3 separate regions of the Homo sapiens genome follow, and all the other regions are linked to region 1. Evidence: promoter capture Hi-C in 16 types of primary human blood cells and fetal thymus (Javierre and others, 2016). All regions are on one chromosome and are shown on one strand. Each heading gives the region's core, a stretch centred on a gene start or on the middle of the fragment in contact. The rest is flanking DNA. Distances are from core to core; before and after follow the strand shown.

What was found. Contacts are between HindIII fragments. The CHiCAGO score rates a contact against its expected background, and 5 or more counts as called.
Region 2: a contact is called between the fragment with the promoter of TCEAL1 here and the fragment with the promoter of BEX4 in region 1, in 6 of 17 cell types (erythroblasts, fetal thymus, M0 macrophages and 3 more). The highest score is 10.1, in erythroblasts.
Region 3: a contact is called between the fragment with the promoter of RAB40AL here and the fragment with the promoter of BEX4 in region 1, in 2 of 17 cell types (M0 macrophages and monocytes). The highest score is 6.4, in M0 macrophages.

The regions. Positions count from the first base shown.
Region 1 is chrX:103,213,645-103,216,914 of GRCh38, forward strand. It overlaps BEX4 (brain expressed X-linked 4), which reads left to right and starts at 1,464. Exons shown (of 3, transcript NM_001080425.4): 1 at 1,464-1,594; 2 at 2,038-2,120; 3 at 2,505-3,270. The coding sequence starts at 2,510. The coding sequence ends at 2,872. The HindIII fragment of the contact is 8,756 bases long and covers 1-1,823 here.
Region 2 is chrX:103,627,480-103,630,749 of GRCh38, forward strand. It overlaps TCEAL1 (transcription elongation factor A like 1), which reads left to right and starts at 1,496. Exons shown (of 3, transcript NM_004780.3): 1 at 1,496-1,546; 2 at 2,015-2,094; 3 at 2,406-3,270. The coding sequence starts at 2,438. The coding sequence ends at 2,917. RefSeq lists enhancers at 1,121-1,190, 2,062-2,356, 2,261-2,310, 2,381-2,450. The HindIII fragment of the contact is 2,900 bases long and covers 1-1,820 here.
Region 3 is chrX:102,935,625-102,938,894 of GRCh38, forward strand. It overlaps RAB40AL (RAB40A like), which reads left to right and starts at 1,648. Exons shown (of 1, transcript NM_001031834.1): 1 at 1,648-2,676. The coding sequence starts at 1,695. The coding sequence ends at 2,531. The region is part of intron 10 of LINC00630 (long intergenic non-protein coding RNA 630); the gene reads left to right. The HindIII fragment of the contact is 15,007 bases long and covers 1-3,270 here.

The DNA of each region.
Region 1 (3,270 bases), core at 214-2,713:
AGTAAAGAGATAATGTGTTAATGACACCACTGAGATCCAGACTGTAGGAAAATACAGAACAAATGACTATTTCATCAATAATTAAAGAAAAAATTAAAAAATGAAAACCCACAGATTAAAAGAAATTTAGGAAATTTGGCAACCAATCAAAATGCGCATATCTTATTTGTATCTTGATTCAAACAAACTGTTAAAAAAAACTATAATACAATTGGGTATTTGAACACAGATTAGACATAAAATGATATTAAGGAATTGTGAATTATTAAATGTGACAACAGTATTGTGGTTATATGCTAAAAAGAAGAAAACCCTTATCTTGTAGATACATACTTTGAAATATTTATGCCTAAAGTGATATTATGTCTAGAATTTGCTTCAGAAATAATTTTAAGGTTGGGAAGCGGGTAAGATAAAGACGAAATAAGATTGGCCATGAGTTGTTAACTGTGGAATCTGAGTGAGGACTAGTACATGGGGTTTGCATTATACTATTCCATTTTTCCAAATGTTCGAAATTTTCCATTAAAGTTAAGATAAAGTTAAACTATAAAGACTGTTTCTTAAACAAAAAAGGGGCCGGGCGCTCACGCCTGTAATCCCAGCACTTTGGGAGGCCGAGGCGGGCGGATCACGAGGTCAGGAAATCCAGACCATCCTGGCTAACACGGTGAAACCCCGTCTCTACTAAAAATACAAAAAATTAGCCGGGCGTGGTGGCGGGCGCCTGTAGTCCCAGCTACTCGGGAGGCTGAGGCAGGAGAATGGCGTGAGCCCGGGAGGCGGAGCTTGCAGTGAGCCGAGATCGCGCCACTGCACTCCAGCCTGGGCGACAGAGCGAGACTCTGCCCCACCCCCCAAAAAAAGGAACAGAACAGAAAGGTATTAAGAAGAATTAGAAAAAAAATCCACTGTCCTTGACTCATTTCCTGTCCCCCCCCAAACGTTCTGGTGTGGAGAAAAGGATGAGCATTGGTAACAAGTACCACAGTTTGCCATTGGGGTGGGCGGGACTGATGCTCTCTTTATTTAAATTTTTGACATCTTGCTCATCATAAATTTTCTTGCAATAATTGTTTTTTAAAATGTTGCATTAAAATGTTATTTTTCTTGACTGCTGAGGAATTTTGCACCCCTTTAAATTCTGCGCCCGCGTCCTGGTTGGGAGATGTGGGGAAAATCCTGGGAGCCCAGGACAGGGAGAGGCAAGTCCCCACAGAAGTGGGAATGGCCAACAGCTCCCTGAGAAGACAGCTTCCCTCTTGGGGAGGCAGAGGAAGTCCCAAGAATACACAAAGACAGGAGAGTGGAAGGGCCGGCCAGTCTGGAGATACTAAAAGAGACTCCGGATGAGGATAGGGGCTGACCCGAAAGCCCCGCCTGACTCCGGGCTGCAGGAGGGGGCGTGGGACGGGGGCGGAGCCGTTGGCGATGACAACAGCCCCACGTGACCGGCCAACACTGAGTGTTGTCTCGCTCTGGCGTCAGAGCCGTCGTGGCTCGTTCCATTCTCGGCGGTGGTACCTGCTCCCGGTGGCCCTGAGGACGTGTGGGCCAGGGGCGGCCCCGAAATTAGGAAGCGGAGGGGGAGCAGGTAAGGAACCCGGCGGGGGGTCCCTGGGGTTGGTGTGAGGGAGTGGCTCCGGCCTGCGGATGCCCACCCCGGGGGAGCCGTGCGGAGAAGCAATCGGTCCGCGATGCAGCCCCCGGGCCCCGCGGCGGGCCCGCGAGCCTTCCTTGAGCGGAGAGGTGCCCGGCCCGGAGGGAGCCGGCGGTCCTGGGGCTACGACCCTTCGGAAACACCTGCCTACGCCATCAGCGCAAGCTTTTCCGACACCCCTGCCCCGCACTTCTTGGTGCAGAAAATGGTGGTCAGCTTGCGGGGCGGGGCGGCTGAGGCGGGGGGCGAGGGTGGCGAGGAGGGCCAGGGCCAGGGCCAGGGCCAGGGCCTCGGGGCGGGGCGGGGGAGGGGCCGGATGGCGGTAGTTCCTAGCTAGCGTTCTGCTGCAGCAGCCCCCACTTCCCCCACCCCGGCAGTCTGCAGGTCTGCGGGGCTAAGTGTCGCGGCGGCGCACCTCGCGTCAAGAATCCGGAGGAGGAGACTGCAAGGATAGGCCCAGGTCGGTGCGAGGGTCGGTGGTGAGGCGGGGGCCGGAACGTGAGGAAAGCCCAGTCTGAGACCCTAATCCATGCCTTCACCCTCGCCCCCCTCTACCCCATGCAACCCTCCCCTTCCCACACGCCATCCTCGTCCTCCATTTTGCTGCCTGCGGAAGCCTGGAGATGGATCTACAGGGAAAATGGTGGGCTTTGCGGAAGGGAGGGGCTCGGATTGAGGGCACCCCACAGGGCATACTGGCTTCTCAGGTGGAAAAAAATGAAATGTTAGAGTATAAAGTCAAGTCCAGGGCTCTGAATTTTAAAAGGTGCCTAGTAGGGCCTCTGTCCTCAGTGCTTATCAGTCCACCAAGAATTCAGCCCATTTTCTCTCTCTTGTCTCCTAGGAGTAATGGAGTCCAAAGAGGAACTAGCGGCAAACAATCTCAACGGGGAAAATGCCCAACAAGAAAACGAAGGAGGGGAGCAGGCCCCCACGCAGAATGAAGAAGAATCCCGCCATTTGGGAGGGGGTGAAGGCCAGAAGCCTGGAGGAAATATCAGGCGGGGGCGAGTTAGGCGACTTGTCCCTAATTTTCGATGGGCCATACCTAATAGGCATATTGAGCACAATGAAGCGAGAGATGATGTAGAAAGGTTTGTAGGGCAGATGATGGAAATCAAGAGAAAGACTAGGGAACAGCAGATGAGGCACTATATGCGCTTCCAAACTCCTGAACCTGACAACCATTATGACTTTTGCCTCATACCTTGAATCCTAAAAGTTTTCGCTGAGGTTAATGTGAACACTGCTTTACAAGCTTGTATTTTTGTGATTTACTTTTTCTGTAAGCCTTTTGGGGTTTACACTTACCAGTTTCTAATGGAAATTAGAATTCTAATTGAATATTGTTTTGTCTCAGCCTAAAAGTTACGGTCAGCATGGCAATTCACCTATTTTAGGAAAAATACTCTTTTCATAATATGAAATGCATAAAGCAGTTCAAAAAGCAGTCTGTATTCCATCATCTTCCTTTTTCATTCCAGTCCTTATTTTTGTAAGTATTACTTTTCCTCCTCCGGCTACCTGGACTCAAAATCTCAGTTGTCTTTGACAGTTTTTTTCTTGTCCCTGACCAAAAAAGAATGATCATACCCAGAATTCAATGTTTG
Region 2 (3,270 bases), core at 246-2,745, 410 kb after region 1:
ATCTCACAGAGAAATTGGAAAGTAAAACAGTTATAAAAAAGATATGAAGGTAAACTAATATTTGTCTAAATGCTATCTCAACACAAAGTTAATCAGATATCAGAGAAAAGCAACAAACAGTTCTTAAAAGGGGAAATTTCACATGAATTTCTGTTCAGAAACTTACTAAACAGCCTGGCTTTAAAACAAAATCCCAGGATCCTCACAGATCAGATGGTCATCTACCCTGAAAGTGTAAAACACAGAGGGAAGGGAAGTAGTATGCTCTGTAGGGGAAAGAGCATCTGCATAAGAAAGTAGCATCCAGGCTGATGTGAGTAGATGAGAGGCAGGCATAAGGTTAAAGATCATAAAATACTGTTAGATAAAAAAAAATACATATTGCAATGACAATTGAAAATGCTAGCATAATTGTAGTCCTGCTATTCAGTATGTGGTCAACAGAATTATTGCATAGTTTAATATGGAATGCCCTCCCTGCTGCATCTATCTTTTGGGGTCCAGCAGTCCCAGAACTCAAATATTTGTTGATTTAGTGAATTAATATAAACTTCCTCAACCAGAAGCACCAAGAGGTGGCTGGTTAAGGATTGAGAGTCCCAGTAAAATCTATTTATTCTATTATGAATAACTACTGAATAATTTATATATATGTACACATGTATATAAATATATTTTATAATCTATTCAGTGTGTATACATGCATATATATGCGTGTATATATATACACGCATATATATGTGTGTATATATATACACACATAGAGAGAATAATGCCAAGCTCTCCACCAAGGACTATCCCATTTCAGATAATAAGTGTTCTGGACTGTTTGTACTTAGATGGACAAATACGTATTTGATTTATGAAAATCAAAGTATTCATTCTTTTTAGATCTACAAACTTTACAAACTCAACTCTTTCTACAGGTCTCGAACTGAATGATTACCAATTTAGATCTGGGGGCTCAAAAAAACAAAATGTGATGTCAAGAAAAAGTGAAAGATTGTCTCCCATGAAAGTGACAAGAGATGAAACATGCTGAATGAGCCTAAATGGACATGATGGAGATACGGATGTGGATTAAAACTGAGAGTGTTGGGATATAAGGATATAATACTGATTTATGAAGGTGAACAGTCAAACGTCAGTGCAGGATCTGAACTGCAGGGGAAATAAGGGGCCTTGGTGGCTAAGGAAGGGAGGAGGGGAGAAAGAGGTGGTACTAGGGGAAGTAGCACAGAGGAAGAGGCAATACTACCCGAGACTAGATGCGGACCGTCTCTGGCAACCAGGAAAAGGCAAATACAAAGAGAGGTGAGTGACAATGCCTGGTGTGTCTCGGGTCAGAGAACACTAGCAGGCACTAGCAGGTGGCTGCGGCAGGGCCGCAGATCAAAGTGGTAACTGGGGATCTGAGTTCGGCAGTGACGCGCGTCCCTCACGTGACCAGGAGCCTCTATGTGCCCAAGTCCCTCTCGTCCCGGTCTTTTTTTTGCCTGTCCACCATCTCCCTATTACCCTTTGGTCGAGAGGGAAAGCAGAAGAAGTAAGTTCCCTCTACCCTCTTAAATCGGTGTGAGTGTCGGCGCTGCCTAGTAACCCGGGGAATGGGGTTGACAGAATCGGGATGGCGGAGTCCAGGCCTTTCCCTAAGCTCCAGCCCCGCCCCCCGCGCCCACATTTCTGTGCAAAATATGGTGGTCTTTGGGGCGGGGTGGGGAGGCGAGTACCTCCCCCGTCCCCCGGGAGGGGGGTACAGACATTTGGAAATAGTTTCTAAAAATGCTTCGCTTCCACTTCTCATCTGAAAAGAAATGGCAAGCTTTGCGGGGTGGGGAGGTGGGAGCACGGAGGACGAAGCTTGACGCAGGGGCTGAGACGAAAAGAGAACCCGAGAGCTAGGGGAGCGTGCAGGCAGTGGCTGGTGCCCAGAAAGTGGGGGGTGGGGGGTGTCAGTCAGTCCGTCCCTCCTCCCCACTCCCCGCCCCCTACCCTGTCTTGCGTCTGTGTGCAGGTCTGCTGGTCACAGCGGGGCACCTCGAGGAGAGGACGACTAGGAGCACACGGCCCGGAAAGGTCCAGGTCAGGGAAGGGGTACGCAGTGGGCCGGGACTGGGGCGCGAGGGTGGACGCCGAAAGGCATGGAGTCTGCAGGCCGCACTGTCCCGCCCCTGTCACTGCGGGCGAGGCCTGTAGCAAAGCCTGCTGGGAAAATGGTGGGCTTTCGGGAAGGAGGGGGCGACCGGGAAGCGGCGGAGTCGGGAGAGCCGGAGAGCCTCTGGGAAAGCGCAAGGTTGAGGACCTGGCCCCCGAATCAGGAAAAGGCAGGTATTGGAACCCACGGCCTGGGTGTTAGTCCAGCCGCTTAGTATTCTGACTCTATTCTGCCTTTCTTGTCTCCTAAGAATAACTGTGCTTGAAGAAGAAAATTCCCAACATGGACAAACCACGCAAAGAAAATGAAGAAGAGCCGCAGAGCGCGCCCAAGACCGATGAGGAGAGGCCTCCGGTGGAGCACTCTCCCGAAAAGCAGTCCCCCGAGGAGCAGTCTTCGGAGGAGCAGTCCTCGGAGGAGGAGTTCTTTCCTGAGGAGCTCTTGCCTGAGCTCCTGCCTGAGATGCTCCTCTCGGAGGAGCGCCCTCCGCAGGAGGGTCTTTCCAGGAAGGACCTGTTTGAGGGGCGCCCTCCCATGGAGCAGCCTCCTTGTGGAGTAGGAAAACATAAGCTTGAAGAAGGAAGCTTTAAAGAAAGGTTGGCTCGTTCTCGCCCGCAATTTAGAGGGGACATACATGGCAGAAATTTAAGCAATGAGGAGATGATACAGGCAGCAGATGAGCTAGAAGAGATGAAAAGAGTAAGAAACAAACTGATGATAATGCACTGGAAGGCAAAACGGAGCCGTCCTTATCCTATTTAATGTGTTCGGCCTTTAATTCTGTTTTGCCTGCTAATAGTATTGCCATTGCCACCTGGACTTTCTGTTTGCATTTTCTTAATGCCTTTTCCCATATTCTGAATTTTAACTTTTTGTGAGGCTTTATTTTAGATGTTTAGCATGTAACTCGCTTAAAGTTGAGGTTTCCCCCTAAAATCTACAAGTTTCCCTCTTTCAGTCATGAGCCCTACACATTTGCATGAAAGATGTACATTATATATTGTGAAACGAAAAAAGCAATTTTCAAATGGTATATATTGTATCCCATTTTTGTAAAAAAAATGTATATTTATATATTAATATGCAAAGAAAAAGCTAAAAGTATAGACTTCAAA
Region 3 (3,270 bases), core at 398-2,897, 280 kb before region 1:
ATGCCTGGGAATAACTCCGTGAGGATGGTATAGTCAGTCCCATTTCACAGATGACCAAGCTCAGGCTCACAGAACCTAAGTCGCCTCTTGAGGTAAGTGGCAGGATTGGAATGAGGTTCTATCCCTCACCCTCCCTAGAGGACCCTGAGAGCACCTCCCTTTTAGAAGATGCACTTCCAAGGCTTAAGAAATGGTCAGATTCCACCATTCAGATCATGGCGATGTCTTTAGGGGAGTTTGTGTAAATTAGGGAGACAACTTTGTTATTGTTTGTTCTGTATTGATGAGTATTTAGAATGCTTCTCATTTTTTCCTTTTTAAAAAGATTTCAGCAATACTGTAGCAAATAACCTCTTACCTGGCTATTTTGTACATGTGAAAAATGTTTCATCCATTACATGCTTACACATCTATCCCTTGGGGCTTGATTTCAATAATTTAAACTCCCTTATATGTGTCTGAGCATTCTCATTCCTTTAACCATCTTTATACCTGTTGTAGTTACAATATTTAAATGCATTTATAACTGAGAAGTGTGTTTCCATTTCCTTGATGTATTTGGTCCCTCATCCTGCCCCCATACACAGACACACACAGAGCCACTTTTACCTTTTTCTTTTGCAAATTAAAAAAAAATTCTTATTCAGTTTTTTCTACATTGAAATTTTGTCAAACGATAGGTGATAAAAGTATATTTAGATAGTTGCATTTGCATTCCTTATATATTAGTGAGCTAGAATGCATTTTCTTATGATTATTGGCCATTTGCATTTCATCATCCATGAACCATTTATATATTTTGTCAGTTTTGCTGTTTTGTTATAGGATCTGTACGTGTGTTAAATCTAAAACCCTTCATTGATCTATGCATGCGTTATTTCAACACATCTTTCTTGGCTGAATATTATTTATGAGACACTCTAGAAAAATCCATATCCTAGATGTTTCTTCTGAGATCTTGGCTCTTATATTTATGGGAGATGTCCCCCTGCAGCAAAAAATGTGTTAGTGCCCATGCAAACATGCGTGGCTTGTCAAGGATCACATGCACAGACAGTTCACACTTACTCCTAAACCCGGCATGGCCACAGAGTAGAAAGGATGTGTGGGGCATTATATAAGGAGAGCACTGGCTCAGGATTGTGATTTCTGTGATCTCTATACTAACGGCAAGATTTTTAAAAATTACGTAACATTTCTGAGTTTGCCTTTTCTCATTTGTAAAATGAAAACAATCATAGCTACCAAAGACAATTGTTCTGAGAAGTAAAAGAACAAATTATTTTAAGCGTCATACACAGCGTAGGGTACATACGGTACTCAACACATCTTAGTCTGCTTCCTATCTCATACCCGTCCTTCCTTTAAAGGAGATTCCTTTGACATAATCCAAAAGGCATGGTTCCATAACGATCACATGAAAGTTTTAAGGGAAATGTATAGGTTTCCATGATGAATTAACTGCTGTGTCACTACTCTGTGCTGGGTAAGAAAAAGGAAAACAATCGCTGAACCGGTTTCCCAGGGTTTGTAAAAGAAAACCATCAAAGCCACCACCTCATTTCACTTTATTTCGTAGACTTCCCCATCCCATTTTTTATGTTCTATGCTAATTTCTCAAGAAAAATAGGCCCGGCACCGCCTCTGCGCACAACCTTGCTGGTCTGGCCCAGGCGGGGGGCGGGGCCAGCACGATGAGCGCCCCGGGCAGCCCCGACCAGGCCTACGACTTCCTGCTCAAGTTCCTGCTGGTGGGCGACAGGGACGTAGGCAAGAGTGAGATCCTGGAGAGCCTGCAGGACGGCACGGCCGAGTCCCCGTACAGTCACCTGGGGGGAATCGACTACAAGACGACCACCATCCTGCTGGACGGCCAGCGGGTGAAGCTGAAGCTCTGGGATACGTCGGGGCAGGGAAGATTTTGTACCATATTCCGCTCCTACTCTCGTGGTGCACAAGGAGTGATCCTGGTCTACGACATTGCAAACCGCTGGTCTTTCGAGGGTATGGATCGATGGATTAAGAAGATTGAGGAACATGCCCCTGGTGTCCCTAAAATCCTGGTGGGGAATCGCCTACATCTGGCATTCAAGAGGCAGGTGCCCAGGGAGCAGGCCCAGGCCTACGCCGAGCGCCTGGGCGTGACCTTCTTTGAGGTCAGCCCTCTGTGCAATTTCAACATCATAGAGTCTTTCACGGAGCTGGCCAGGATAGTGCTGCTGCGGCACAGGTTGAACTGGCTCGGGAGGCCGAGCAAGGTACTGAGCTTGCAAGACCTCTGCTGCCGCACCATCGTGTCCTGCACACCTGTGCATCTGGTGGACAAGCTCCCGCTCCCCATTGCCTTAAGAAGCCACCTCAAGTCCTTCTCCATGGCTAAGGGCCTGAATGCCAGGATGATGCGAGGCCTCTCCTACTCCCTCACCACCAGCTCCACTCACAAAAGGAGCAGCCTCTGCAAAGTGAAGATCGTCTGCCCACCCCAGAGCCCACCCAAAAACTGCACCAGAAACAGCTGCAAAATTTCTTAAGGAAGGCACCAAAAGGAAACAAGCTGGAATCGCTCCAGGAAAAACTCTGAATGGTTACACCTGGAAGAGGGAAGATGCATTCTAGATTCAAAGAAATACGTTTTCAGTTTCTCATGGGAACAATGCTGCTTGGGAATGTGTGTGATGCCTTCTGTCAATAAAAGCACTTTACGCAGTTTGACTTTGAATTTCTACGTGGATGTGCATGTGTTTATAAAGGGGAAATTAGTACTCTGCTTAACTCTTGATAACATGAAATTTTGAATGTTACTTATATCATAATCACACTGCATCTTTTTCCTTAAAATAACCGCTTTTGTAAGAATGGTGATATGACAGTGATGAGTATAAATTCAAGGGAATTTGAGATGCAATGATAGTGAGATCATTCCGAGTCATTGATATTACTAGAGGGGACTTTTTGTAAACCTCCTTTTTGATGTCAAAGCACCAATTTATAAAACACTGCAGATGCATATAGAGATTATACGTAACAGATCTGTCCAGTTTGTGCACGAAATGGATTTGATAAAGTTTTTGCTATGTTATTTTACTACATTTGGAGATTAATAAGTGATTTATATGTATGTTTTTCTGTAAATCTACTTTTTTGTACAAGATGTTCTACAAGATATGAAGCTAAGGGAGGAAAACGCCAAAGATATCTCTAGTTATGTTGAACATAGCCAACATGGTTTCAATGGGTCAGTAAGAAAAAAGCCATTTCAGTAAGGAATGA